Linked DNA regions of Homo sapiens: all the other regions are linked to region 3. Evidence: promoter capture Hi-C in human tissues and cell types (Jung and others, 2019). All regions are on one chromosome and are shown on one strand. Each heading gives the region's core, a stretch centred on a gene start or on the middle of the fragment in contact. The rest is flanking DNA. Distances are from core to core; before and after follow the strand shown. Region 1 overlaps PEBP4 (phosphatidylethanolamine binding protein 4). Region 2 overlaps PEBP4 (phosphatidylethanolamine binding protein 4). Region 3 holds the start of CCAR2 (cell cycle and apoptosis regulator 2). Region 4 overlaps PIWIL2 (piwi like RNA-mediated gene silencing 2). Region 5 overlaps PPP3CC (protein phosphatase 3 catalytic subunit gamma).

Region 1 (5,720 bases), core at 1,662-4,161, 250 kb before region 3:
ACTCTCCTCACAAATTGCTCCTAAGATCTTATCGCTAAAGCGCAAGATTGAGACTAGGTTATTATAAGTGGCAACTGAACCCATTTTCTGTTTCTTTTCATTTTCTCCTGTCCACCACCCCTACCCCATACCTCTCTGTCAAGAGAAGTTCTTAGTTCTTGATATTTCTCTTTAATCAAGTTGACATCCTTTGGACCTAAGGAAATTCAGAATCCAGATGGGCTGCAAGACTCAGAACGAGAGCCAAAACAGAAAATAGATCCCTGACATCAGAGAGCCCTGGTCAGGCCCCCTTTTAATGTTTTAAAGAGATTCTCCAGTGAGTTCTGCTCAATGTAATCTCTGTCAAATCTTGCCACAGAAAGTCCAGGAGAATAGCATAGGATTGGGAGTTTGCCCGCCTGCATTTGCATTCTGGCCGTATGACTTAATTTCCTCTGTATTCAGCGGGTAAGGTGTGTAGCCTCTCTGGGCCTCAGTTGTATCATTTGCGAAATGGGGATAGTAGTCGATATTTATTTATCCTAGCTAAAAACCTATCTCTTAGGCTTGTTGTGAGGATTCAATTAGTCTATGGAAAGCACTTGGGAAGTCTGGTACATGGAAAGAGCACAAAACGTCTGAGCTATTATTATTAGCTGTAATAGGGCAAATTGAACCTCCACTTCTCCCTCTGCTGACTTCAGTAGGCTAAAGTGAAATTCTTTTATAAAATTCCCCACTCCACTGGTGAAGGCTTGGAATCAAAACCTGAGGCCCTGGACAAAAACCAAGTAACAGCTCTGGCAATAAGTGGGCACTGACTTCCAGCTTATTGTGTCAACTGGCCAGTCACTTAGAAGTCAAGAAGCTCTACGTTCCAAGGAATGCAAATTTAATTCTATTTTAACAAATATTTATTGAGCATTTTCTATGTTGAATATACTGTGCTGGGCACTGGGGATACTGAGATCAGATGTGGCCCGGGTCCTCAAGAGCTTACAAATGAGATGACTAATACAGAAACCATTAAGTAGACCTCGTGGCAGCACAGTGTGTCATGAACATGGACAGTCAGGGCTGTCACCGAGTCACCTGCAGTGTGCTCAGTAAGCTGGGCTTGGATGGACCGTGCAGGAGAGACTGTGGCTACTCATCCTTGTGTCCCTGTTGCCTAGCATGGAACAGATGCTCAAAAGATCTTTGTACATGACTAACTTGTAACGGAGGGTCTTGAGGAAAGCTCCACGGAGTACGTATCCTGGGTTTTAAGCTTTGAAGATAGAGTCAGATTTTGAGAGGGCAAAAAAGATGGGAATGCATAAACACAACGTGGTATATCCACACAGTAGAAGATTATTCAGCCTTAAAGAGGAAGGAAATTCTGGCCCATGCTACTACATGGATGGAACTTGAGGACATTATGCTAAGTGAAATAAGCCAGTCACAAAAAGACAGGTACTGTACCATTCCACTTAGGCAGGATACCTAGAGGAGTCAAATTCATAGAGAGAAAGCAGAATGGTTGTTGCCAGGAGCTGGGGGGAGAGGGAAGAGGGAGTCGTTTAATGAGTAAAGAGTTTCAGTTTTGCAAAATGAAAAGCATTCTGGAGATCAGTTGCATATCAACGTGAATGTCCTTAAGACTACCGAATTGGACACTGAAAAATGGTTAGGATGGCAAATTGCATGATATGTGTATTCTGGCACCATATATATATATACATATATGTGTATATATATATATACATATATATGTGTATATATATATACATATATATGTGTATATATAATTTTTTTTCTTTTTCTTTTTTTTTTTTTTTTGAGACGGAGTCTCACTCTGTCACCCAGGCTAGAGTGCAGTGACATGATCATAGCTCATTTGCAGCCTTGACTGCTGGGCTCAAGAGGTCCTCTCACCTCAGCCTCCAGAGTAGCTGAGACTTTAGGCGTGCACCATCATACCCAGCTAATTTTTAAATTTTTTGTAGGGATGGGGTCTCCCTATGTTGCCCAGGGACAGACATCTCCTGGGCTCAAGTGATCCTCCTGCCTCAGCCTCCCAAAGACAATATTTTTTAAAAAGATTGGGAAGGGATCTACAAAAACAAAGATGTAAGGCAAGATAGAGAGGCATAAGAGTGTAGGTTGTATGCAAGGAAAGGATGCTGGACTGATAGGGCCCAAAGTTAAAGTACGAGGAGGGACATAATAGGAGATGAGGCAAGATGGAGACCAGATGGGCCTCAAATGCCGTGTCAGGGAGTGTGGAGTTTAAAATGTGGGCTTTGATTTCATACATTGCTGAAGTGGGTCTTCTAATATTCTCAATCTTGGCTACTAGACAGCCGTCACAGGTACTCTGTGGGCCAGTATGCCAAGCTGCTATCTCAGTTCTATCCCAACCCAACCTCTTCTTCTAAATAGGTCCCGAGGCTCATCTCACCTGGGCCAGAGACAGCCCACTGCACCTGGACACTTCTGGCTGCTTCCTCTGCTGGCTTTGTTTTGGACTGATCCCCCTGGAGTATTCAAGCTCCAGCTCACTAAGGGAAACTAATGAGATTCCAGCCTGATGAGTCTGACTTTTTTCCAATTGAATAGTTGTAAGCAACCTCAGTGCTGCAAGCTCAACACTCGGCGAATTACTGGCTCTGCCTCAGAAGCCACTTGGATTTTCCATCTTTGACTTTCTCCTGGGGTGCAGGCTCCACGGGGGGAGTCTGATGGCCATGTGATAGTGCTCCCTGGTAGATAGGTGCTGCCGTAGTTTGCTTTATAGGCTGGGCTTCTCTCAGCCTAAGACAAAGGTTTACTTATTGAAAGTAGAAATGAGCTGGTCTATGACATCTTGGAATTCCGCATGTTGGGTTTTTTGAAGTGTTTGGGTATTATGGGGACACCCGTGCCATGCTGACTTCTAAATGGAGTCCAAACCAGATGACCACAAGGTAGTCCCTTCTGTGTAGTTCTGTTTTGTTATTGTTGTTTTTTGAGACAGGGTCTCATTCTGTCACCCAGGCTGGAGTGCAGTGGTGCAATCTTGGCTCACTGCAACCTCTGCCTCCCAGGTTCAAGCGATTCTCCTGCCTCAGCCTCCCAAATAGCTGGGACTACAGGCACCCGCTACCATGCCCAGCTAATTTTTATATTTTTAGTAAAGACGGGATTTCACCATGTTGGCTAGGCTGGTTTCGAACTCCTGGCCTCAAGTGATCCACCTGCCTCGGCCTCCCAAAGTGCTGGGATTACAGGCATGAACCACCAGGCCCAGCCTCTGTTATTTATCTAACATGAGAGTTTTAGGCTTCAGTTGTCATCTCAAAGTCTCAGTTTTTTCATCTCTAAGATGAGTCTAATTATCCCTTTCTTGCTTTCTAAGAATATTGAGAAAATGAATGGGATAGAGAGAATGCCATACTTTGAAATCTGAGTAACAGGATGAGATACTTAATACTCTGCATTTTCCCAGGATGCTGGGGCCAAGCATTTGACAGTGAGGATATATTCTGTATGCTCCTTATCTCTGCATTTACCAAAATGAAAAGAGAAGAAGGAAATTCTCATTCTGAGATTGATGATAAGGGTTAACCTGTGGTTATTCATTAAGGCCATGTTAACTCCTTTCTTAAGCCACGTTGCTAAAAACAGCTACACTCCTCAGATGCCGTCACTATTTTGCTGCCCAACATCTGAGAAAGGAACTTAAGAAGAAATGCAGGAAGCTGAACGATTCCTTTCACCATTTCAACACCCACACTATCCCTCTTTGACTAGCTGGGTCTGTGGGTGCTGCTGAAGCTATCCCTTCTCACTGGGACATGGAGAGGACCCCGCCTTAGTTATAATAGCAGCAAGAACAAAATGTCTCAGCCCTTGTCACCTAGAAGAATTCTACCCCATGGTCCCCACGCTCTGAAAAGTGGTGGAGGAGATGGTTGGGTTAACAACTAAGAGTTTGCCCCATGGACGGTCCGTGAAGCATCGCCCAACACACCATGCACCAGGGGCATGTAAGTCAGGTGACGGACAATTCCTACTATTGCAGGTAGTTCTCATGGACAGCTCTCCTCTTGCTCCCCATCCCTTGCCCCCTGTTCTTCTCCATGGCTCACTGCTCCCTGACTTGGTATGCTGCCTTAACCATGTCATATACAAAGTCAGATAGATAGAGAGAAAAGCTTATGAGGAATGCTTCAGTATTCGATGCTGGCTTCTGGCTTTTCCATTTAGTAACCCACTTCCACCTCCCTCTTTGGTCCTGGACTCTGCATCCCACCAGAATCAACTCTCTTTGCTCCCCCAACTTCAGGTTCTCCTGTGACTTCAGATGAAAGACTCGTTACATCAGTCCTGGGTTCAAGGACCCTACCAACCAGGCCAGCTTCTGGCCTGCTGTCATCTTAGCTTCCAATTCCAGTTCTGCTGTTTGCTTGCTGTGAATCTCACTCACTGCTTAAAAGCCAGAATATACTGTGCACTGAGTCTTCCACTCCTGGCGGTCCTTCAAGAACTTGGCTCTGGCCACAAGTGTTTTCTGGAATGGGTGATGGGGAGCAAGAGGCTGAGAGAAGGGTATAGCATTGGTAGGTGATGGAGCCCCGTATGGTATAGATGCTTTCTCTGTAAACTGCCTCAGGATATTAAACCAAAATGTGTGAGTGAGTAAGTGTGTGTGTGTGTGTGTGTGTGTGTGTGTAGGTTTCATTTTTTAAAGTAGGAAATGTCCACTATAAAAATTTGGACTACCCAGATTTTTTTTTAAAGAAAGGGAAAAAAATTAAATGTCCCTACTCCCACACTAAAAGATAAGCCAGTATTAATATCTTGGTATAAATTCCTCTACATTTTTATACTTACCAATTGTATCTTACTTCACAGACTGGCTTATAATTTTGTGCTTTTTTTTAACATCATAGTGCATCAGTTCATGTCATCAAACACTCACCTATCATTTTTAATGGCTGAATTGTGTTCTGTGGAGTTCAGACTCTATCTTCCTTCATTTAATCAGTTCCCCTTTGTTGGACATTGAGTTGTTTCTGGGGAAGTTTTTCTTTCACTATTATAAATAATTTGGTGTCAGGAAAACTGAGGCCTAAATCTTTGACTTTATTTTTAATTTCTGGGGGTAAGATCCTAGAAGAGGAACTAATAGATCAAAGGGTATGCACCTTTTCAAGGTTTTTTATTTTTCTATATATTTATTTATTTATTTATTTATTTAGAGACAGTTTCCCTCTATTGCCCAGGCTAGAGTGCAATGGGGCAATCTCGGTTCACAGAAACCTCTTCTTCTGGGCTTAAGCAATTCTCATGCCTCATCCTCCCCAGCAGCTGAGATTATAGGCATGCACCACTACGCCTGGCTACTTTTTGTGTTTTTAGTAGAGACGGGGTTTCGCCATGTTGGCCTGGCCCGTCTCGAGCTCCTGGCCTCAAGTAATCCGCCTGCCTCGGCCTCCCAAAGTGCTGGGATTACAGGTGTGAGCCACCTCTCTCAGCCCTTTTCAAGGTTTTTGATATTCATTGCCAAATTTGCCCCAAGAAAGTTAACCCAATTTCTATTATCATACTGTCAACATTTCATCAACACTGTATTTTAGAATTTGTTAAAATAATTACCAATTTGACAAGTAAAAAATAGTACCCTAATTGATTATAAATTAGGCTGGTTATTTTTTCATGTGCTTTTTGGCAATGTGTATTTATTTTGTGATTTTTCTCTCCATTGTTGCCCA
Region 2 (5,689 bases), core at 2,631-5,130, 210 kb before region 3:
GCTGTGTTGCCAAACAAGTTTTGGATACTCTGAGTTGAACTGAATTCATTCTGTTTCTCACTCAAGGGCTTTTGGAGCTTTTACTAGTCTAGTATGCTCTATATCATATACACTGATTTTCCAGTTGCATTTGATTATTGAATCCTTTTGTTCATGAGTGCCTGGCAGTGCTCTTTGGGGAAGTCCACACTAGCCTCAAACAGTCACGAATCTGTGCCTAGAACACCTGCAGATGGGTTTTGCAAACAGTATACAAAGGCATCAACTCTGTAAGATAGTGGGAACTCGGAACTAGAAAAACAAAGTTTGGATGTGGTTTGGACCTTGGCTGGCTACCAACCCAGTGACCTCTGTCGGCTCCTCTGGGCATTTCATCTTGCTCTGTAATATGGGAAATGTGCTGCTGACTTGCTGTGATTGTCATGATGAGCCAATGACTTATGAGAGCACTTTGGAAAACAAATAATTCTGCAACTATGAAGAGTTTATGTTTTTCCTTCTAGAACTGTGGGTGGAGGAAGGGGTTTAAATCTGAACTAGCTTGTGACTATCCTGAGCAAGGCAGGGTTTTCGCAGCCACTGGGTGGGAGTAGGGGGGTGAGAGGGTAGTTACCCTGGCAACCAGCTGGTGGCCCAGTGACCGGGGCCCCTCCCACGGAGCTCAGGTGGACAGGCATCCTTAGAGGCAGCCCTGCCTATGGCCCTGGAAGGGGCTTCCTCAAGGGAGACCCAAGCAGCAGCTTCGTGGGCAGTGCTGGAGCCACCTCTGTTACTCCACACACTTCCCTGGCCAAACACCATAAACACACAAAGGGACAGAGCTGGGAGGTTTGAGCCATCAGGAAGGGGAGAGGAGCAGTGGGCATGAAAGAGAAAGAACTGGCATCTCCCCCTCACCCCCCAAGGCTAGAGCGTTGTCATTTTCTGAACTTAGGCCTCCCCAGCGGTCTCAGGGGTGAAACACTCAAGAGAGAAGTATTGCCCTGAAGGTCACATTCACAGCCACCCCAGGCACACAGGGCTTCCTGTTAGGAGCTCTGCTCGGCGGTCCTGAGGCCGGAGTGCAAAAGCAGTTAGGGTGGGATGACTTCAGAATTGAGAGGACTTGGGACCATGAGGCTGCCTCTCTTCCAAGCCTGAAGACCCCCGACTCCTGCACTCCCCTTACCCCCATACTCAGAAGGGACCTCTCACAGGAGCTCTGTACAACGAACATGAATTTAGCCTCAGCAGCCCAGCTTAGAAGTAGAACAGGTGGCAGGTGACAGGTGGCAGCTGTCCGGCAAGGCTGCTAAGCCACAGAGCTTACCAGTGCCACCTGCCCGGGTGCGGCCCTCGGCCTTCCCGCTCAGGCCGGAGGAGGCGCGGGTTTCCGTCACATTTGCACTGCTTCCCTCGTGAGTGTTCAGCAGGAAGCGGCAGCGATATCCACTTGGCCCTGCCCACCTTCCCCAAAATTCCACCAGCCACAGAGACGGTGTCAACCAAATTCATTTAGGTCTCAGATTCTAGACCTCGACCAGAGGAAGTGAAGGCTCTGATCAAACCCAGAGTACTTCCTTTGTGTTGGTGTTCACCACTGCTAAGTGGGTCTCAAACAGTTGAGTGCATTCGAATTGGCAGACGAGCTTGTTAAAATGCAGCTGCCTAGGCACTACCCCACCCGCAGAACTTCCACCTCGGTCGGTCTGGGGAGAACACGGCATTCTGGCTTAACAAGCATCCAGAGGGGTTGAGCAGATTGAAGGAAGACCATAGAGCTGGGATGCCTCGGTCGTTCTTAACATCACTCATTTGTGGAGCAATTTTCAAGCGAAAAGCACTTTTAAAACTCTTGAAACTCAACACCACTTTGTGAAATAGACATAATCCTCATTTTATAGATGGGGAAAGCAGAGCCCAGAGAAGTTGAATGATGCCATCTCTTAGCTAATGGGTAAGAGAGGTGAGTCTTCAATCCGCGTCCCTTAACCCCAAGTCACATGCCTTTCCTGCCGTACCATGTGGCCTGAGTTCACATCACATCTCTCCCATCAACTCCACTAGGACAAGGAGCCACTATCCCCTCTCTATAACAAGGAAGACATCATCTCTGTGGTTCCCTCCACCACCCCCCGGTTCACTCCCAGAGTTCTTTTTCTAACTATCCTTTATGGGTAGATGCTTCCAGGGAACTGTCCCCAGTGAATACTATCTTGTTAAATAAAACACACTAGGTAAGTGTTTTGGACCCCATAATACTACACCCTAAATACCATCATTACCCAAGCAGCCTTAGTAGGAAAGCCTGCCATAAAGTCTCTGCAGACAGAGAGGGACCATGGCCCTGTGGTTCACAATGACCACAGAAGCAAACTTGGTGGAACTTCAGCTGACCCTGATATTAGGGGGCCAGGTCTAACTGGATGGTTGATCAGGCCATGGCCATAGGAACCCTTCAGTAGGGACAATTTTTTGACAGGCTATCTGGGTTGAAACAGGACAGCAACGAGTTTTTAGGAATACAAGAAATATCTGTGGCACCCCCCACCTCCACTCCAAAGAGGGGCTGGCAGGGTTTAGTACGGAGTAGGATAAAGCTCTGGAACTTTGGATAACTTAAATAAAAGCCAAAAGTTAGATGCCTGGCAGTAGGGACCGGGCATTAATTCATGGTACCCCTTTGTTCGTTTAATTCAAGAAATATATATAGAACACTATTCAGTATAGCACAGTGGTTAAGAGCAAGGACTCCAGAGCCAGACTGCTGTGGTTTGAATTCCTAATCTACCATTATTAGCTGTGTGATCTTGGGCTAGTTGCTCAACCTCTCTGTGTCTCAATATACTCACTCGTAAGCTGGAGATAGTAGTGTGCCTACTTCACACTGTTGTTATGAAGCTTAAGCGAATTATTTTAAGGATAGTGCTCAGAACAATACCCAGAACACATAGTAAACTCTACATCATTACTTGCTCTTATATTATTATTGCTGTAAATCAGGCAGCTAGGTTAGCATTGGTGACACAAACGCAAACAAAATTGAGGAAGGCTCTGCCCTCACAGGGCTTCTATTCTAGAGACCAAGGAAGGAATCTGCAGCACAGTGGTGGTATTACGAGACCCCCAGAGGCTGGCTTGGGGTGGAACTTCCTATACCTGTGGGTTTCCATCAACTCAGGAACAGGACTAGGCTCCAGTCTCCGAACCTGGCCAGGCTAGGACAGGCAGAGACAGATACATAAGGTATGCTGTCCCACTTGGCTCCCTCTTTGAAAAGTTCTCATTGAGCAAGAGCGATTTCTAACTGAGCATTGACAGATAACATCTTTCTCCCCGACTGCAGTGTCCTTAGCATTTCCTTAAAGATGATCTTCAGTTCTGACTCCATCTAACTAATAATCTTCATGCTGAAAGCTCATTAGGATATCAATTAATTTGCATCATTCATTTTCAAAGAAACACTTATTGGTGCATCTTTTATTTGTCTCTGAAGTTAGTGTTCAGAGCTTTTCATGCAGATATTTTCATTAGACTTTTTATTGTTAATGGGGATATTGAACACGGGAAGATGGTATATTAATACTTTCCACAAAGAATATCATGATTGGTGACAAAGAACACTAAGAACAATTAAGGAGACAAGAGTATCTTTTTTCTTCCAAAAAAGAAAATCTTCCTAGAAACCGTCAATGATTCTAAAATTTGCCCTGAATATCTTTTTTGTTTTAAGAAAGAAAAGGAAATTGGCAAGTTCATGGTTCCCTTTCATTCAGTGCCCTCAACCTTTGGCAACTGTAAATGCAACCAATTCTGGGTTGAATTAAAAGAGTCTCTAAAGGGTCATTATTTTGTCTACTTTTCTGTAGGGTTAAATTTTTCCATAATTAGAGGTTTTTTCCTAAGGGCTTCTAAGTGCTTTAGGTGAATAAGATAATGGGAAATCCAATAAACAGGGCAAGAATTATAGCTCCCTGCTTTCTAGTTATGTGGGTAGCACATGCCAGGACACTTGTGCTTGAGTGATCGGTTCCACTGCTGAGCGAGTTGTTTGACCTCTCTAAGACTGCAACTTCGCCTCTGTGAAACTGACAGAAATCCTCACTCTTCAGGGTGGAGACAAGGAAAAAGGAAATTACATATGCAAAGAGGAGAAGCGTCCCTAGAGAGAGGCACTATAGGAAGCGGCACGTGTATCCTTGTGCCTAATCAATGGAGCAGCAGAGCCTGTAGAAATTTAAATATATCGATATAAAAATAATGATATAATCTCATTTTCTATATATCCAGAACCACACTAATGATAATAAACAGAATAAACAATCTTTATCAGGCCTGCAAGTTCAGATGAAGAGGTCAAACCAAGGAGATGGGATTAATAATGACTTCTGTCTTTAGAGCTGTATTTGCAGTTTTGCCACTGATATTTGTGCAGTTTCCCATGCATGCTTTGACCTGTACTGTGAGGATCCATTTTAACTAATAAGCAGCTAAAAGGCGTGACTTAGGCTTCCTAACATGTAGGTTCAGCTCTATGGGCCATAAAGAGTGCTTGCTGATGGAGACAGCACAGAGGTGGCCATAAACCAGGTGATTATTAACCAGACTTGTATGTGGCCACCCTGAAGGGAAAGGGAAAGAGCTCGGACTTTGGGTCAGATGAACTAGAGGAGGTTCCAGGCTCTGCCGCTTCCAGGTGGGAAGGACCTCTAAGTACATTAGGTGAATAAGATAATGGGAAATCCAATAAACAGGGCAAGAATTATGGCTCCCTGCTTTCTAGTTATGTGGGTAGCACATGCCAGGACACCTGTGCTTGAGTGATCGGTTCCACTGCTGAGCGAGTTGTTTGACCTCTCTGAGACTGCAACTTTGCCTCTGTGAAACTGACAGAAATCCTCACTCTTCAGAGTGGAGACAAGGAAAAAGGAAATTACATATGCAAAGAGGAGAAGCCTCTGAGGCTCAGTTTCTTCATCATTAAAATGGGCATGATAATATCTATTTCCCAGCGTTCAATGAGATTAAGTCTTCTGACACAGAATAGTAGGACTTTGGTAAATGTAATTATCTCCCCTACAGCCCCCAACTTTGACATCTGACCATAGCAGCTACTTATGATTTAGCAAACTCCCTTAGACAATTGGACTCAAGTCTTGCAAAGTGAAAATTCTAGACAGTGCCCAACACAGCTCATCCTTTTGCCCTTTGAAACTAGATGAGTCCAGGCCCAGCCTGGAGGACCTAACGTGACCCCAGCTGGCTTTTGAGGAAACCAAAGCGTGTTGGAGCCTGGAAGCCTTTGGTCAGTCCCATCATTCCACCTCTAGGGATCCCCTGTGACCTCCTGAACCAGAGCAGACTCCCTGGAGCCGTCCCAGGCCACAGCCCAGGTGTGATGCTGGGCTGCAAGTGACAGCCAGGCCTATGGTGCACTGCCCACATTTGGGGCTGCAGCCCCTTCCTCTCCAACATTTCCCACCTCTATTTTTAACAGAAGCCAGTGCCCCTGCCATCTCCTTATCACTCACAGTCCCACTCTGCTGTCATTGTCCCGCCCTAGAGATGCTTTTGCTCCCATTCAAAATAATTTAAATAAAATGTTGCTACAAAGCGGAATATTATCTTTTGATGAATGTTTTTAAAGCCCTTTAGGTTTTCATGGTAATTTGCGATGTGAAATTATTTGGAGATAAGAGCCAAATTAGCT
Region 3 (6,247 bases), core at 502-3,001:
GTACTGCATCAAGAGTTCGCACAGAGTGAAGTACAGGTGTGGTGGGCATACTCCATCATTAGGGGTTGGGGCATGTTTGAGCTGGTTCTTGACCCACAAGCTTCTTCTGGGATTTCCAGTTCATTAATTCCAAGACGTAAGCTAAAGATTTCCCTGGAGCGAGAAATGAAGATGCCCCAGTCTGAAGGCTATCTGGGCAACCCCATACTAGCCCACTACCAGGAGAGGGATCAGGAATGATAAACACTATTATGTAAGAGAAAAAGAGCACCAGGCCTCCATGCATTCAGTCCCAAGGGCTGAAACTTACTACAAGGGATGCCGAACCTACCTGAAGGTGCCTGGCATTCTGGGACAGTTCTGTGGCCACAGGAGGAGTGAGCAAACCAGGAGGAGGGCCCAGAAGAGATGTTGAAGCTGTGCCTATGGGGAAAGAGAAGCAATCTCCAGGAACCGCCCCTACCACCTTAAGCACGAGTCAACCAAAGGATGTGGTAAATCCAAAGGCTACAGCTCCAGCCAGCTCCTCCACAGAGCTTCACTGGCAATCACTGTGGGCATCTCCTGCTTTCCAGAGGAACATCAGCAGCAAATTGCTCTCCACCAGGGAAACCCCAAACTAACTCCAGAGCACATACTTCCCAGGATGAGGCCAGGTAGGGAGAACAGTGATCACCTGAGAAGTTGCGTCCCCCTGGAAGCGGGTTGATCCGCTGGCGCTTAAACTGGGACATTGGGAACGCTGTCCTCTTTCAGAGTCGTGGGGAAAAGGCTTCAATCCAAAAAGAAAGAAATTAACAGCTTATAAGGGAAATTTCCATCTATACCCGGAAAAGTGGAGAATCTTAAGTAAGGATATTTCGGAAAACAGGGAGGTGGGTAATAAGAATGAATGAAAGCAATGGATGGAGAGAATATAGAGAAGAAAGAAATGAAACAAGAAATTACATTGTTCCAGTTTGCCCTGACAATAACCTAGTGGTGCATGATACTGTCATGCTGTTTTACAGACAAGGAAACTGATGCTCAGAGAGATCAAGAGACTTGCCCGGGGCCACATAACCAGGTAGTGACAAAACTGCTACTCACACCCAGGCCTCCCAACAACTTAGCGCTCCTCTCACTATGCCACGCCACCCCCAGAGTAGCTGGCGGGGTGAGGGGCTCGAGAGAGCCCCGATGACATTCCTTCGTTCAAAAACATCCGCCAAAACCCTCCACGCAAGGCCCGGAAAAATGGAGGAGGCCGGTGCCGGCGAGGAGACTGTGTGGGCCCTCTCCCCGGAAGCCCGACCCGTTGTTTCCTCGACCGGCTGGTGGGAAGGCAGCTCCCTGGCCGACCAAACGCGAAACCGGCTGCGCGCCACCCTCCTGCTCCCACGCTCCCGGGCCCTCCGCTCCGGCCTCAGCAGCCGCCAGCGCCGGGTCTCCCAGCAGAGCCGCGGCGAGGCCACCAAGGGAGGACTGAGGCGCGCGGTTTCTCCTCCTCCCGCCCGCCCCCAAGGCCGAGGCCGTTGCCAGGGAGACGGGACTTGCAGTCCAAAGAGGGGCTCGGCCCCTTCCGCGCCCCACGCATCTTCGCCGCCCGGCCCTCGCAGCCCCTCGGCCAGCGGAGGGGCGGAGGGGCGAAGGGGCAGAGGGGCGGCAGGGGGCCCCCCAACCCACCTGCGGGCCAGGGCAGCGACACCGGGGGGACAAAGACACCCGGAACCACCACAGCCGCTGCTGCCGCCGCCACCGGAAGCGCCTCTCCGGAAGCGCGACCACTGGTCGGAAGCTGCCGCTCTCCCGGATATGGTCCCTCCCTCGTCTCCGCCGACCTCTCCCTTCCCCCACGCCGGCTTGCCATCCCGCGGCAACTGGGGAGCGGAAGTGCGCCTTCCCGGATCGGATGCGCGTCAGGAAGTCGCGCCTCGGTAGTGTCCTCGCTAAAGAATCCCATCAGGAAAGAAGGCTTCGGATCATTGGTTCCGGGCTCAAAGGAAGCGGGAGCTGGGCCCCCCAAACACAAGGGACCCCCGACTGCCTACCACGCTCGCCTCCCTCTGGCAGTCGAGACTGCAACAGATAAGGAAACCAGCCCCTCCTGACTGGAGGAGAAGGATGCCTATCAGTGACCATTTCTAAGAGACATTCCTGGTCTGACTCAAGCCAGTGACCACCATGCCTAGCCAGTCAGGAATCAGTGCCCTAATTCTCAAATATGAAATCTAAGAGGCCTCAATGAAATGACCTGCTCAAAATCTTGCCAGGAGACTGGCCATTTTAGTCCCCATTAGCAATCCCAGCCCCCCCTTATCCTCCGACCTCCCCATCATCACTCCAGCCTTACTTTCCCCTTTCCTATTCACCTGAGGTTTACAAAGCACTTTGAGGCAGTTTAATCTCACTTTATCCTCATAACAAGTCTGTGAGGTAGATAGGGCAGGCATCATTATTCCCAGCGGGAAGCTGTGGCTCAGAAAGGTTGACTTGGGGTCTAAAAACTAGTACAGGCATCTGGTTTGAATTAAGACCTGTAAACGCTAGTACGGAGCAGAGAAGCTGAGCACTGGCTTTGAAAGTTATTCAGTTCCCAGGTTGTCCCTGATCTTCCTCATTCCTTGTGCAGTCTTCAGGAGTCCGGGGCAAGATTCCATGCAGAGGCAGCCAAAGCCACACCGTTCTCTGTCCCAGGGCTGCCAGCATGGCTCTGAGGAGGAAAGCTCAGTAACTGCCCACTGGGGAATAAAGGTCAGTTCCATCCTTCTGCAGTGACCTCCCCCAGAATATCAACCCTTTGGATGCATTATTTCAGAAGAGATGGTTGGATCCAGCCAGCTTGCAACACTGACAGTCACACAGAGATATGCATACCATTGCGCATAAATACACATCTGCAACATGCTGGGCCCAGACAGGTCACCATGCCAAAAACACTCCACGGACACCTGACAATGAGTGAGTTCACATTGTGGAAGCCCAGGGATTTCTGGTGAGGAGGAAGAGCCCTGGAGCTGCGGCATCTTGGGGGCCTCTCAAGAAACCAAGGTTCCTGACCAGACTGCTTAGAGGAGAAAGATTCAGCCCTCGACTCAAGAGAGGAGGGCAGGCGTCAGCAGCTTTTCCTGGCAATGTGGAGAAGCAGCAAGAGGGCAGAGGGCGAGGAAGACTTCACAGCAAGTCCCCTCCACCCAGGGTCACCAGGTGCACCGAGAGGTCTCAGCCTACAGAAAGGTTTTTTGCTCGTTGCTTCTTAACCACTAATGATGGCATAAAGGTCTTCCGGTGGGGGCGGCACTGAGGCCTTTCAGGGAGGTCCCTGGACTCGATCCTGTGGAATGAAAAGAAGACATTAGGCTAGAAGGGGGAAATAAAACTAACAATGGCCCTAGAGTTGAGAGAACGTGGTTTATCTGCTGGTGGGTAGCTGGGTGTGGGCGCAGCCCGGGGCTGTTAAATGACTTGGTATTTCTTCCTCCTGGAGAACGATTCAATACAAGCCCCGAAGCATGATGGCCTTCACCCACTGTGAAATCCTTTGTGCTCCACCTTGCTCTCCCCACGAACCTGGAAGGTGGCCTAAATGTCAGCATTGAGGGTGAGGGGTTGCTGAGCTAGGGTAGGCAGATTTCCCACATTCTGGTCCTAGCTGTCACTGACTCACCGTGCGGCTTTGGAAAAGCAACTACCCCCAACCCCACCCAGAACCCTGCCTCCTTATCTGTAAATGGGGTGTTTTAACTACTGTTTCTTCTAGCAGCCCCTCCCAGACTGCCTCTCAAGTTTTGCGGGGACAATAATGACAACTGGCATGACAATCTCAGCATCCTGGCTTATCAGTCTCCTCTCCGTGCCCTAACCTGGGCTGGGCACGGGGCTCACCTGGGGTCAGAGCCATCAGGAGGGGCAGGGGGCTCAGGGTGGTGGTGGCTTCTCCGGCAGATCCGGTTGAGCAGGACCTTGACCTTGTCCCAGTGGGAGATATCCCGCTGAGCAGAGGATGAGGGGTCACCCAGAGCCCTCCCCACACTCAGACCCCCGACCAAGCTCCCAGAGACAGCTGTCGCCACAGCCAGGACAAGTCGCCTGCTCCAAACAGGAATCAATCCTGTCATTTCCCCAGAGTTGCTGGCCCCCAGGGTGCCCATGCATCCCCCACCTCCCCTCCCCCCACCCCAGCCCACCACCTGCCCCACATATACCTGTCCCCTACCTTGTGTCCCTGGGAGGATGGCAAGTGGTACGTTGGCTCCACTGGGGTTTCTGGCAGCCTGGGAGGGTTGGCACTGGGCACCTCCACCTTTGGGGGTGAAGCAGCCTTTGCTCCTTCAGAAAGACAGTCAGGTTGGCCAGGGCCAGAAGACACCCCATCAAGCTTCGGCTCAGAGGACCTGCTGGTGGGACCCCAGGCAGGCAGGACAAAGGGAGACACGATGGCCCCTCACCTGTGTGCTCTGTCTGGCTTAGCAGCTCCCATGGCCCCTGCCCCCGATTGCCTGGGGTGTGTAACGGGGACGGTAAAGGGGCTCGGGTCGACTCCTCCTCGCCGGGATCCTATGCACAGGAGAGACAGGTGATCAGGGCCTGGCTAGAGGGCTGAAGCTGCTCTGAGGGCAGCCATGGTTCCCAGGGTCCCATCTGTCCTCTCCCTCCCCCACTCGAATCTCACTCACCCCTGGGGGCCTCTGGATCCGCAGCTGCAGGTAGAGCTGCTGGAGCCTTGCCATCTGCTCCAGCACCAGGCACAGGTGTTCCAGATAGCGAAGACCCTGCCCGGGGAGGCAGGCCCAGGCTCCAGGCCCCAGGCCCCCCACCTGTGGGACATTGTGAGATAGGGGAGATTTCAGCCAGTAGGGCTCCTGCCCTACCCTAAGCAGCCAGGCTGGGCTCAGCCAGCAGATGGGAGCAGAGTGGGCCCCGAGGAGGAACACACGCAGCCGGCTTCCCCACTGCCCAGCGGGGCATAGTGCCAGGAAGGGCCCCCGTAGCTGCCCACCTCCTCTGCAGAGGTGGCCGTGCACAAATGGAACTGGGGTGCAGAAAGAACCTATGACACAACCCATCAATTAGGGGCAGGGAGTGCCCCACCCAGAGAGAGCTCCAGGGAGAACCAGAGGAGCTAGGCTGTCCATCCCACTCTTAAACCCAGCCTGAGAGTGAGCACTCACCGCCTCTTCTTCCAGGCCTGCCTCTAGGTCTGTGTCTGCCTCCATGGACTCCTGTTGCCCTGCTCCAAGGGGCACTTCACGCTCAGGCTTGCTTGCCAGCCGCAGGGAGCGGTGTTGTCCTGACAAGCTGGTGGGAGCTGTTGGGAGCCGGCGGGACCGCTCCAACACCTCCCCCAGCTTCTGGCTGGCCAGGAGTCGGCCTACCTGGGCGGGGGGCTCAGAACTCCCTGAGGATTCAAAGTCCAGGGAGTCCTGAGAAAGGCCCGGTAAGGCGGCCAGGGGGCTGTCCCCAACTGCCATCTCCACTCCTGAGTCCCGGGAGGCCAGTTTGAGAAAGAGTGCCTCCCTGCCGACACCTCTGAACTTGTCACCTCTCTCCCAGGATGAGCACCCGTGGGCAGCGTCGGGGATCCGTCTGTAGGTGCTGGTGACTCCAGGCACTATGCAGCCCCGTGCCAGGCCCTCGCCAGCCCCATCTGCATGGAGAGTCAGCGTCAGGCTGGGCAGGCCACCCCCAACACCCCCAGCATTCCTGAAGGCTGGCAGCACTGCCCCAGGGAGAAGTGTCCCGGAGCAGTGAGGAAGGGCGGTCACTGGACAGCCACGGGCAGCCCGGATATGGCCCCAGCTGTCTGGGAGATGTGTGGATGGGATTCCCTTCGCAACGGTTGTTAGCGACAGGGAACCCGTGCTCTGAGCTGTGTGGTAGGCAAAGCCCTGGCAGGCCACATCCATCAATCCCTTAGACGGCCTGCGCCTGCGCTTCCCACCTAGGATCAGCCCACGATCTCCCGAGTCAGAAGTAGGGAGCCACAGGCTCTTCCGCTGCTCCCCAAGCGGGAGTAGGACTGTATCCAGCTTCAGGGAGAGGGGAGAGGGTACAGAGAGGAAAGCCTGGGATCCAACCTGCTCTCTGGGGGCCCCTGCGGCATCAGGATGCCAGGTGAAGTCTCTCCTGCAGCTCACCGGGAGAGTGATAAAAATCACCGCTATAACCGATTTGGGCTTTTGTTGTAAGTGAGCAATAGTGAAGATTTTATGAAAAGTTTAAAATGAAAGAACTGAAGTGAAAGAAAGGGACGAAGGGGCAGCATTAG
Region 4 (6,070 bases), core at 1,811-4,310, 250 kb after region 3:
GTGAGAGGCCCACTCGCATTGTGTAGCCTGGAATCATGGCAGATCCTTTTGCAGTTAGTGCCAAAGCTACTGTGCCTAGAGGGCAGGGAAAAAAAGCTTCTAATCATTTCTAGACTTCCTTGGGGTAGTAAAACACGCCTGGTGCAGCAAAGGTGTTATAAAACATGAAAGCAAAACATGCAAGTTATGAGTCACATGCATACGGCTTATCCACAAACAATGCAAACAAAGTTCAAAGGAATGCTGGGAAAACTGCAGGCTGAATCAATTTTCCTTCTACTTGGATTTAACACTAATAACTGTCGGGGCAAAGAATAAGGTAAAGTGTTAGAGAAATTCTAACATATGACCACATATGCCACAGATCCGCTGCCATCAGATTTTTACCTACTGGAAATATCCCAAGTTGCTGACAAGTGAAACGTCCCTTTACTAAATATTACCCTACAGTCTGGTATGGTGTAAAACATACAGTAAACATACAGTAAAACATTTTTACTGTAACTAAGTAATTAGCAAACAGCTAGCTATGTGAATTGTCTATGGGTCCAAATTAAATTAAATGCTTGCTTGAAGCAATTTGAAGAATAATTTTTCCCCCATTTAGGGAATATAATTGTGTTCTAGTTGTGTTCAACTTCAATAATTCAAGAAGGGCCAGGCACGGTGGCTCACGCCTGTCATCCCAGCATGTTGGGAGGCCAAGGCGGGTGGATCACCTGAGGTCAGGAGTTCAAGACCAGCCTGGCCAACATGCTGAAACCCTGTTTCTACTAAAGATACAAAAATTACACAGGCATGGTGGCACATGCCTCTAATCCCAGCTACCTGGGAGGCTGAGGCAGGAAAATCACTTGAACTCATGGGGTGGAGGTTGCAGCAAGCTGAGATTGTGCCACTACACTCCAGCCTGGGCAACAAAATTCAAGAGGGTAAGTTCACTTCAACTTAAAATGGAAGTTCCCTTTAAAAGTGCTTTAGTTTAATTCAGTTTTGATTCTAGTGGAGTGTGGTTCATTCTAAGTTTGTGTTCATACTTACCCTCAAAAACCTAAATTATGGGCTGGACACGGTGGGTCACGCCTGTAATCCCAGCACTCTCAGAGGCCGAGGTGGGTGGATCACCTGAGGTCAGAAGTTCAAGACCACCCTGGCCAACATGGTGAAACCCTCGTCTCTACTAAAAATACAAAAATTAGCCAGGTGTGGTGGTGCACACCTGTAGTCCCAGCTATTCAGGAGGCTGAGGCAGGAGAATTGCTTGAACCTGGGAGGTGGAGGTTGCAGTGAGCCAAGATTGCACCACTGCACTCCAGCCTGGGTGACAGAGTGAGACTCCGTCTCAAAACAAAAAACAAAAAAACAAAAAAAAAACACCAAAAAAACCTAAATTATGAATTAGGTTTAGATATAAATTATATATATATATATATATATATATATATATATATATATATATGTATGTATGCACTGTTCCTTACAGGTTACTCTACATGAAAATGTGATTTCCAAGAATACTTTAAAAAAATAAGCACTTAGAATCCCTTTAAAAAGTTGAGTTTCAATTTGTTTTTTTTTTTAAGAATTGAGGTCTCACTCTGTTGCTCAGGTTAGACTGCAGTGGTGTAATCATAGCCACTGCAGCTTCAAACTCCCAAGCTCAAGAGATCCTCCTGCCTCAGCCTGTCAAGTAGCTGGAACTACAGGTGCTTGTCACTACGCCAGTTAATTAATTAATTATTTTTTTTTGAAACAGAGTCTCGCTCTGTTGCCCAGGCTGAAGTGCAGTGATGCAATCTTGACTTACTGAAATCTCTGCCACCCAGGCTCATGCAATTCTTGGTCCTCAGCCTCTCAAGTAGCTGGGACTAGCTGGGACTACAGGTGTGCACCACCATGCCTGGCTAATTTTTGTATTCTTAGTAGAGATGGGGTTTTGCCACGTAGGGCAGGCTGGTCTCAAACTCCTGACCTCAGGTCATCCGCCTACCTTGGCCTCCCAAAGTACTGGGACTACAAGCGTTAGCCACTGCGCCCAGCCTAATTTTATTTAAAAACATTTTTTAGAGACAGGGTCTCACTATGTTGCCCAGGCTGGTCAAACTCTCAGCCTCAAGTAATCCTCCTCCCTCAGCCTCCCAAAGTGCTGAGGTTACAGGAATGAGCCACCACTTCTGGCCCAGAATTTCAAATATTAATGACCCCTTTTCCTAAGAAGCCTCAAGCACTACATTTACAAGTATGTAATTCATCTTCACAGTCTCAGATTGCACCAGTTTGTGGTACTTTTTATTTATTTTTTTGAGATGGGGTCTCATGCTCTTGCCGAGGCTGCAGTACAGTGGCACCATCTCTGCTCACTGCAACCTCCACCTCCCAGGCTCAAGCCATCCCTCCTGACTCAGCCTCCTGAGTAGCTGGGACTACAAGTTTGTGTCACCATGCCTAGCTAACTTTTGTATTTTTTGTAGAGATGGAGGTTTCACCATGTTGCCTGGGCTAGTCTCGAACTCCTGGACTCAGTGATCTGCCTGCCTTGGCCTCCCAAAGTGCTGAGATCACAGGTGTGAGATACCATACCTGGCCTGTAGTACCCTTAAAAAAATTTTTTTTGGCTTTCCAGCATCTACTCCATCTTTTCTCAGTAATAGCACTTGAGTTTCCTCCTGCCCCCAACAAGATATAGTCTGGTGGGACTATTAGTCAACGTGCCCTAGCCCAACCCAAGGTTTCCCAACCTGTCAGCTCTACTGACATTTGTGGGTAGATAATTCTTCATCCTAGAGGGCTGTCCTGTGCACTGCAGAATCTACATTTAGCATCATCCGTGGCCTCTATTCAGTAAATGCCAGGAGCAACCTCTCACCCTTATGACTAAAAACGCCTTTATATATCACCCACTGGGAGGACAAAATTGCTCCCAGTTGAGAACCACTTCACTAACCAAAGGATGTGTAGACGACTCGAGCCACACCAACAGACTGCTCCTCCCTTGCTTCCATCTTGAGTAGAGAATGCAAAACAGTGGAGTTTGGCCCTTCAATGGCAGTGCCTTTTCAGGCCCCTGCTTCTGAAACCCCAGGAGTTAGCCTGAATCATGCCCATTTACCAGCCTGGGGCTCCACCTTCTCACCAATCCTCTGAGCCTCTGTACGATCCTGCCAATTTCTATTCTGCTCAAGTTACCAGTTCCTGTTAATTCCCAAAGACTCCTAACTAACTCGCTGTGTTAAAAGGCAGGTGACCCAGGACCTCAGATCTGGAAGAAACCCTCATTTGACAGACAAGGAAACAGACAGTACAGTGGATTTGGGGTCAGGAGACCTGGGACTGAGTCTGACTCTGCTACTCCTTTAGCTGTGACCTTCAAGACTCAATTTCTTCAGTTGAAAAGTGAAGAAAAATGATCATCTCACCTTCTTCTCAGGGTTGTTAAAAGGGATAAAGTAAAATTTATATATATATATATATATATATATACACACACACATATATTGTACACAAAAGTTGAGACCGAGCTAGATCAAGGATATACAGATATTCCGAAGCACAAAGAAGGGACTTAATAAATCAATGGAGTGAAAAATAGAAGGCCGGGTGCAGTGTGGCTCACGCCCGTAATCCCAGCACTTTGGGAGGCTGAGGCAGGCGGATGACTTGAGGTCAGGAGGTTGAGACCAGCCTGGGCAACATGGTGAAACCCCGTCTCTACTAAAAATACAAAAAATAAGCCAGGCCTGGTGGCGTGCATTGAACCCGGGGGGCAGAGGTTGCAGTGAGCAGAGTTTGTGCCTCTGCACTCCAGCCTGGGTGACAGAGTGAGATCCCATCTCAAAAAAAAAAAAAAAGAAAAAAGAAAAATAGAAATCAAATTTGACTTTGGTAACTACTGGCATCACCTCCTTCTTTAACATTTGCCAACTAACCACTGAGTTCAAGGCACCACACTCAGCCCTAGGTAGGCCTCCAACAGAACCGAAAGGAATCAAGGAGCTGAAAAATCTAAAAATAATCAACAATGTTAAGCTGTCTAGGTCATCTAGTCTATTTTCTTCATTTTGTAAGTTATAAAACTATGATTGAGGGATGAGTCAGAATATAGGACAAATCACAAGGCTGAAACATAACTCTTAAATGTGTTTTTCTTTCTTTTGAGACAGGGTCTTGCTCTGTCACTCAACCTTCTGGGCTCAAGCGATCCTCCTGCCTCAGCCTCCTGAGCAGCTGGGACTATAAGCATAGCTGGGACTACAGGGATGTGCCATCAAGCCCGGCTAATTTTTTTATTTATAGTAGAGACGAAGTCTCAATATGTTGCCCAGGTTGGAACTCCTAAATGTATGTTATAAAAACCACTTCAGTACTCAGTAGATACTTGAAACAGTAAGTAATGAATGTTCTCGAAAGCAACACTGTGTTTATTAATTTTAGTATCCCTTAGCACTGCGCAGAGGGGCAAGGGTCAGTTAGGCAAAAAATATCTGCTGAGTGTTTGACATGTTTTTATGTGTGGCTCCATTCATTCACGGAACAAATACTTCACATCCACTAGATATGAGCCACTGCACTTATCTCAGAAAATTAAAACATTATTATTTTTGAGATGGAGTCTCGCTCAGTCACCCAGGCTAGAGTGCAATGGTGTGATCTCGGCTCACTGCAACCTCCGCCTCCCGGGTTCAAGCGATTCTCCTGCCTCGGCCCCCGAGTAGCTGGGATTACAGACACCCGCCATCATGCCCGGCTAATTTTTGTATTTTTAGTAGAGATGGGGTTTCGCCATGTTGCCCAGGCTTGTCTCGAACTCCTGACCTCAAGTGATGTGCCTCACTGTCTCAGCCTCCAAAAGTGCTGGGATTACAGGCGTGGGCCACTGTGCTCAGCTAAAACATTATTTTAATACTATCCAGATCCTCATGGAACTCAAATTAAAAAGGGGAGGCAGACGCATAAATGCCCTCAATATATTATAAATAACATAATAAAGATATAAATGCTATGGCAACAGAGGAGTGTAAGAGATTTGCTCCCTGGAGGGAGAAATGTATCAGGAAAAGGCATGAAGAATGAGTCTGCCAGGAGTGGTGGCTCACACCTGTAATCCCAGCACTTTGGGAGGCCGAGGTGGGCGGATCACCTGAGGTCAGGAGTTTGAGACCAGCCTGGCCAACACAGTGAAACCCCGTCTCTACTAAAAATACAAAAATTAGCCAGGCATGCTGGCAGGCGCCTGTAATCCCGGATACTCAGGAGGCTGAGGTAGGAGAACAGCTTGAACCCGAGAGGCGGAGGCTGCAGTGAGGCAAGGTCATGCCACTGCACTCCAGCCTAGGCAACAGAGCAGGACTCCGTCTCAAATAAAAAAAAAAAAAAAAAAAAAAAAGGCCAGGCACAGTGGCTCACGCCTGTAATCCCAGCACTTTGGGAGGCTGAGGCGAGCAGATCACAAGGTCAGGAGATTGAGACCATCCTGGCTAACATGGTGAAGCCCCATCTCTACTAAAAAAATACAAAAATATTAGCTGGGTGTGGTGGCGGGCACCTGTAGTCCCAGCTACTCGGGAGGCTGAGGCAGGAGAATGGCGTGAGCCCGGGAAGGGGAGCTTGCACAGTGAGCCGAGAGCACACCACTGCAGTCCAGCCTGGGTGACAGAGTGAGACTCTGTCTCAAAAAAAAAAAAAAAAATTATGTTAATGTGCTGAATTTGCTACTTTTTTTTTTTTTTTTTTGAGACAACGTCTTGCTCTGTTGCCCAGGCTGGAGTAAAATGGTGTGATGATGGCTCATGCAGTCTGAACTTCCTGAACTCAAGCAATCCTCTTACCTCAGCCTCCTGAGTAGCTGAGACTACAGGCATATACTACCATACCCAGCTAACTTAAAAATTTTTTTATACATATGAGGTCTATGTTGTCCAGGCTGGTCTTGAACTCCTGGGCTCAAGTGCTCCTCCTACCTCGTCCTCCCAGTGTTGGGATTACAGCCACGAGCGGCTATGCCCAACTAAAAATTTTCCTTAGAGATGGATCTTGCTATGTTGCCCAAGCTGGTCTCAAACACCTGAACTCA
Region 5 (5,432 bases), core at 2,721-5,220, 140 kb after region 3:
GTGGGTATATGGTCAATAATCCCAGCTGAGGCAAGCTTTGAGTGAACTCAGCCCACGCATAACTCACTTCATTCAAACTTAAGTAAAGACTACAACTATCTACGTCTATGTGCTAAACACTGAAAAGGCTCTTGGAATCATCAGTCAAAAAGCAAAAAGTAGTCCAGGTATGATGACTCACACCTATAAAAAGAATCTCATCACTCTGGGAGGCTGAGGTGGGTGGATTGCTTGAGCTCAGGAGTTCGAGACCAGCCTGCGCAACATGGCGAAACTCTGTCTCTACCAAAAAAACACAAAAATTAGTTGAGTGTGGTGGTGCACACCTATAGTCCCAGCTGCTCAGGAGGCTGAGGCAGGAAAATCACTTGAGCCCAGGAGATTGAGGCTGCAGTGAGCTATGATCCAGCCACTGCACTCCAGCCTAGACAGCTGAGCGAGACCCTGTCTCTAAAAAATAAGTAAATAATAAGAAATTGTTAAGATGTCTTTTACACCTACTACATCTTTGGGTTTATAATAAATGGCCACTAGGTAAAACAAAGCTTTAGTCCTTTACTTTATTAAAAATTTTTTAAAGGATTATAAAAATTATTAGCTTTGTTTGGCATACTCTGAATTTTAATTAACTTAAAACTTTTGTGAGAACTCTTTGCTTTATTAAATTTGGGTTAAAGGGAAAAAAAAACCTCACAAATCATAAGGAAAGTTAAGCCTTCCCAATTTAATCATGTATAATAAAATGTGGTTAAAATAAATATACTTCAACATTTAAGTATCTTTCGGCTTAAAGAAAATATTAGGAGGCCGAGGTAGGCAGATCACCTGAGGTCAGGAGTTCGAGACCAGCCTGACCAACATGGTGAAACCCCATCTCTCTTAAAAATACAAAAAATTAGCGGGGTTTGGTGGTGGACACCTGTAATCCCAGCTACTTGGAAGGCTGAGGCAGGAGAATTGCTTGAATCCAGGAGGCGGAGGTTGCAGTGAGCCGAGATCATGCCATTGCACTCCAGCCTGGGAAACAAGAGAGAAACTTCGTCTCAAAAAAAAAAAAAAGAAAACATACATTCGAGTACAAAGACTGCCACAATAGCTATCTAAAAAAGGATTTTATTTCTAGGTTTCAGTAAACTTGGAATGGTGAAACTCATAATACACTTTATAGGATAAATGAAAGAAAGTCCTAGAGACTGTCAATGTCCTCCCTGTTTGTGAGATATTCTTACTTCTAGGATAATCAGTGACTACTCATAAAATTCATTATGTACTTTCTGCAATAGAAGATTCCACTCCCTTCCATTCTGATAATGCTGGTTAATATAATAAATCAACTAAAGCCTATAGTCCCATGATCCACAGGTGGTTTCCGCTTCTTCCTTACATTCATCTAAAGTTCCTGGCTATAAGCTAAAGATAGGAATTGAGCCTTGTGGAAGACTTATCAAAAGAACTTTTGTAAATGTTTGTATCATGCACCCATTACTGACACTACAGAGAATAAATTAATGATGCATACTGCCGACATCATTGCCATGGACAAACAGTGGGTGAGCCAAGATTTCCAGAACTGTTATGGTCCAGAAGCAGAAGATAAAATGAATAGACTATTTATGTCCAAGATAATCAGAACACAACCTCCCAGATGCCAGAAGCCACTGATGACTACAGACTTGCATGATTTTGTCCTTTATTCTCTTGGCATTTTCTTCTCTCTCCACTGTTGTAAGATTTTAGGCTGCTAACAGATAACTTTTCCTTACTGTTAGCACTATCAAGATGCTTATCCTTGGCAAAATATAAACCAAATATGGGACAGTTGCAAAGGTGAATGACCCATATCCAAATTAAAGGAAAAAAAATATATTTGGTTGCCCAAAGGAAAATCCAAATAGATTATGGGATATATGGGACATTATTTTAAACTTTAATAATAACTGTCTGAGTTTCAGTGTGTTGCAGATGCCAAGTGTGTGATCTTTAGAGTCTTAAATGCTGCTGTGCAGCCACTGTCACACCAGCTGATTCAACAAATTATCATCTAAGAAAAAGAACATCGAGGCCATCCTGGCTAACATGGTGAAACCCCGTCCCTACTAAAAATACAAAAATTAGCCTGGCATGGTGGCGGGTGCCTGTAGTCCCAGCTACTCAGGAGGCTGAGGCAGGAGAATGGTGTGAACTCAGGAGGCGGAGCTTGCAGTGAGCCGAGATCGTGCCACCGCACTCCAGCCTGGGCAACAGAGCAAGACTCCGTCTCAAAAAAAAAAAAAGAAAAAAGAAAAAAAAGAACAAAATGGCCTGGTGCCTGTAGAGGCCAAAATGTCTACCATCAAAGCTTTATAAACATTCACAACCCATCAAACGACAGTTTGAAATCTTGATTGATCACCTCCCCTAAATGGTAAATGTTCCAGTTTAGCGGACGAATGATCAGAAACAGAGATTAAAAAGTGAAACAAAACTGAAATTACACTACAAATTGCTTGCAGATGCACAGAAAAGCACTTAGTACTTGCAAAACAGATAAACTGAACCAAACCAAACCGCAATGTACTGTGCATCACAGGCCATCTAAGCTCAAACCTTATTTTTTTTCTTTTTAAGAGAGAGGGTCTCCCTCTGTCACCCAGGCTGGGGTGCAGTGGCATGATCATAGCTCACTGCAGTCTCCAACTCTTGAGTTCAAGTGATCCTCCCCCTCAGCCTCCCAAGTACCTAAGACTACAGGTGTGTGCCACCACACTCAGTTAATTTTAATTTTAAAAAAATTTTTTTAAAGACTGAGGTCTCACTAAGTTAAACAGGCTAGTCTCAAACTCCTGGCCTCATGCGATCCTCCCATCCTAGACTCCCAATGCACTGGGATTAAAGGTGTGAGCCACTGTGCCCAGCCTCAAACCTTTATTAATATCAGCTCACTCATACCCGTATGTTCTAGTACCACAAACTGATCTAACAGTAAATCCTCAGGGACTTATGTGTCCTAGAGGCAAAACTACTGGCTGTTCCAGCAACTCACTCAAATTACATATTCTAGCCAATCCCTGCCCAGACTACTACCTTTATCCTAACATTACTCTGTGACTAACAGCTCCTAAAATCCTGTATGTCCTCTTTCCTAACTCTATCCTTTTGAGAGGTCCCACAGCTCTTCTGATGTATGTTATTCCTTCCTGCAGCAAGCTAAATCAGTGTAACTTATTTTTGACTACAGATGTTTTCTTGGTGGTCTTTGGTGGTGAGATTTAACAGTCCCATGGCAGGAAACTGGTGGCTGACAGTTAGGAATAGGAAGACTTTTTACCACATACCTTTTAAAATGTTATGCCATGTTATTCTACTATTTACTTAAAAAATACATAGAATTAGACTTTAGAGATGTATATAATACTATCATAAATTAATCGACCAACAGTAATATTACCAACATCCAATACTGCTGGAACTTACCCAGGAATCAGAGTGTTTTGGATATCAGCAGACAGGAAAATTCACCACCTGCTTCTACAATTCTAGAAAACCAGCCAGCAGTTAGGGGTGGTAATTAGCTTCATATCTAATGTAAACAAACTTTTATTATACTGTGTATTTATACTAAAAATCAAGTTTAAAAACCCCTTATCATTAAAAACAAACTTCATATGTGGAACTATGTTTGCTAAATATGGCTCACAAAGTGCTGTAAATAAAGTAAAGATTTTCAGCTGGGTGCGGTGGCTCACGCCTGTAATCCTAGCACTTTGGGAGGCCAAGGTGGGCGGATAACAAGGTCAGGAGTTCGTGACCAGCCTGGCCAATATGGTGAAATCCTGTTTCTATTAAAAACACAAAAATTAGCCGGGCATGGTGGTAGACACCTGTAGTTCCAGCTACTCGGGAGGCTAAGGCAGGAGAATCACTTGAACCTGGGAGGTGGAGGTTGCAGTGAGCCGAGATCACACCACTGCACTCCAGCCTGGGCAACTGAGCAAGACTCTATCTCAAAAAATAAATAAATAAAGTAAAGATTTTCTTTTTTCATTTTTAGACACAGGGTCTCTCACTCTGTCACTCAGGCTGGATGGTGTGCAGCTGCTTGATCATGCCTCACGGTAGCCTCGAACTCCTCAAGCAATCCTCTCACCTCAGCTTCCAGAGTAGCTGGGACTTCAGATATGCACCATGACACCTGACTAATTTTTAAATTTTCTGTAGAGACAGGTGTCATCATGTTGCCCAGGCTGGTCTCAAACTCCTGGCTTCAAGCAGTTCTCCCACCTCAGCCTCCCAAAGTGCCAGGTTTACAGATGTGAGCCATTGCACCTGGACTAAAATAAAGGTTTTCATGCTATTTTTTAAAGTTTCGAAAGTTTTGGCCTGGGAATGGTGGCTCATGCTTGTAATCTCAATGCTACAGGGGGCCAAGATGGGAAAATCACTTGAGGACAGGAGTTTGAGACCAGCCTGGGCAACATAGCGAGACTCCACCTCAAAACACACACTCACACACAAAAAATTCTTTGAAATTTTCAAGCACAGAATTTACAAAAATAGAATAGGAAAGTATTATCCATGTAGTATCAAGTATTGATTGTAAACATTCTGCTAATCTTTCAAACTATCCTATCTTTATTTAAAGATTTTTATAAATCAAAGATACTATACACTTGAGGCAAAACAATTTTTTAAAAGAGCACAAAACAAAAAACAATAACCACCACAAAAACAAAACTCTTAGAATCTCACCAGCCAAAGACAACTACTGTTAAGATGTCAGTATATATCTTAATATTTTAAATATGTAAATACATTATTTTATAATCAGTTATACTATATAGACAATCTTCTAATGTTTTCTTAATTTAGTAGTAAACTCCACTAATGCAGTATAGATATTTTCTCCCATTCTGTGGCTTGCCTCTTCATTTTCTTAAACATCTTTAGAAGAACAATTTTTCAAAAGTCCAATTGTCAGCGTTTATGGTTCATGCCTTCTATGACCTATCTAAGAAAATAGTCTACCCCAAAGTCACAAAGATTTTTCCTATACTTTCTTTTAGAAATTTATAAAAACTTCACCTCCCCAAGACCATACCTCCTAATACCATTACATTGGGGATTAGGATTTCAACATACAAATTCTGGGGGGTCACAAACATTCAGACAATAGCATTAAATAATCTCTTGTACTTCTTCTTAATACATATATCAAAGTAATATGACATGAACTAGAATGAAAATAATCTCTGAGAGGTCACTAAAGTTTAAGTCCAACCAACAATGTAGGCATAACATGTGACAAATAATACTCACATGCAAGATACTCTCTCATGAAAATGAAAGTATTTTACACAATTCTAGATAAACCACCTATAAGTTTATCTCTTTAAACACACACACACACACACACATAACAAAGTGATAATAATGAAGTGGTTATTAGTGGGAAC

The links. The method cuts DNA at HindIII sites, captures the fragments that hold promoters and counts their contacts. A contact is called where the count stands out against the background at its distance.
Region 1: a fragment that was not itself captured here is called in contact with the fragment with the promoter of CCAR2 in region 3 in 6 of the 25 tissues and cell types used here (aorta, lymphoblastoid cells, mesenchymal stem cells and 3 more).
Region 2: a contact is called between a fragment that was not itself captured here and the fragment with the promoter of CCAR2 in region 3, in 2 of the 25 tissues and cell types used here (lymphoblastoid cells and mesenchymal stem cells).
Region 4: a fragment that was not itself captured here is called in contact with the fragment with the promoter of CCAR2 in region 3 in 1 of the 25 tissues and cell types used here (lymphoblastoid cells).
Region 5: a contact is called between a fragment that was not itself captured here and the fragment with the promoter of CCAR2 in region 3, in 1 of the 25 tissues and cell types used here (hippocampus).

What each region holds. Positions count from the first base shown.
Region 1 is chr8:22,856,200-22,861,919 of GRCh38, reverse strand. All of the region lies in intron 3 of PEBP4 (phosphatidylethanolamine binding protein 4), which reads left to right. Among named protein-coding and RNA genes, the nearest start is that of PEBP4-AS1, 19 kb to the left of the region's middle. The HindIII fragment of the contact is 5,295 bases long and covers 264-5,558 here.
Region 2 is chr8:22,811,314-22,817,002 of GRCh38, reverse strand. The region is part of intron 4 of PEBP4 (phosphatidylethanolamine binding protein 4); the gene reads left to right. It overlaps LOC105379325 (a long non-coding RNA gene), which reads left to right. Exons shown (of 2, transcript XR_949584.2): 1 at 1-1,945; 2 at 5,198-5,598. Among named protein-coding and RNA genes, the nearest start is that of PEBP4-AS1, 64 kb to the left of the region's middle. RefSeq lists a silencer at 4,729-4,907. The HindIII fragment of the contact is 6,165 bases long and covers 798-5,689 here.
Region 3 is chr8:22,600,261-22,606,507 of GRCh38, reverse strand. It overlaps CCAR2 (cell cycle and apoptosis regulator 2), which reads right to left and starts at 1,751. Exons shown (of 21, transcript NM_001393997.1): 1 at 1,666-1,751; 2 at 677-772; 3 at 332-423. The coding sequence starts at 734. C8orf58 (chromosome 8 open reading frame 58) reads right to left here. Exons shown (of 7, transcript NM_001013842.3): 2 at 5,151-5,626; 3 at 4,656-4,796; 4 at 4,428-4,536; 5 at 4,196-4,308; 6 at 3,865-3,971; 7 at 2,366-3,313. The coding sequence ends at 3,202. LOC107986876 (a long non-coding RNA gene) reads left to right here and starts at 1,508. Exons shown (of 1, transcript NR_160769.1): 1 at 1,508-3,375. RefSeq lists silencers at 1,334-1,393, 1,454-1,753 and enhancers at 1,417-1,917, 1,924-2,033, 4,345-5,222. The HindIII fragment of the contact is 3,664 bases long and covers 1-2,229 here.
Region 4 is chr8:22,346,830-22,352,899 of GRCh38, reverse strand. All of the region lies in intron 20 of PIWIL2 (piwi like RNA-mediated gene silencing 2), which reads right to left. Among named protein-coding and RNA genes, the nearest start is that of SLC39A14, 17 kb to the left of the region's middle. The HindIII fragment of the contact is 6,194 bases long and covers 1-6,070 here.
Region 5 is chr8:22,459,417-22,464,848 of GRCh38, reverse strand. All of the region lies in intron 1 of PPP3CC (protein phosphatase 3 catalytic subunit gamma), which reads right to left. Among named protein-coding and RNA genes, the nearest start is that of PPP3CC, 21 kb to the right of the region's middle. The HindIII fragment of the contact is 5,055 bases long and covers 1,443-5,432 here.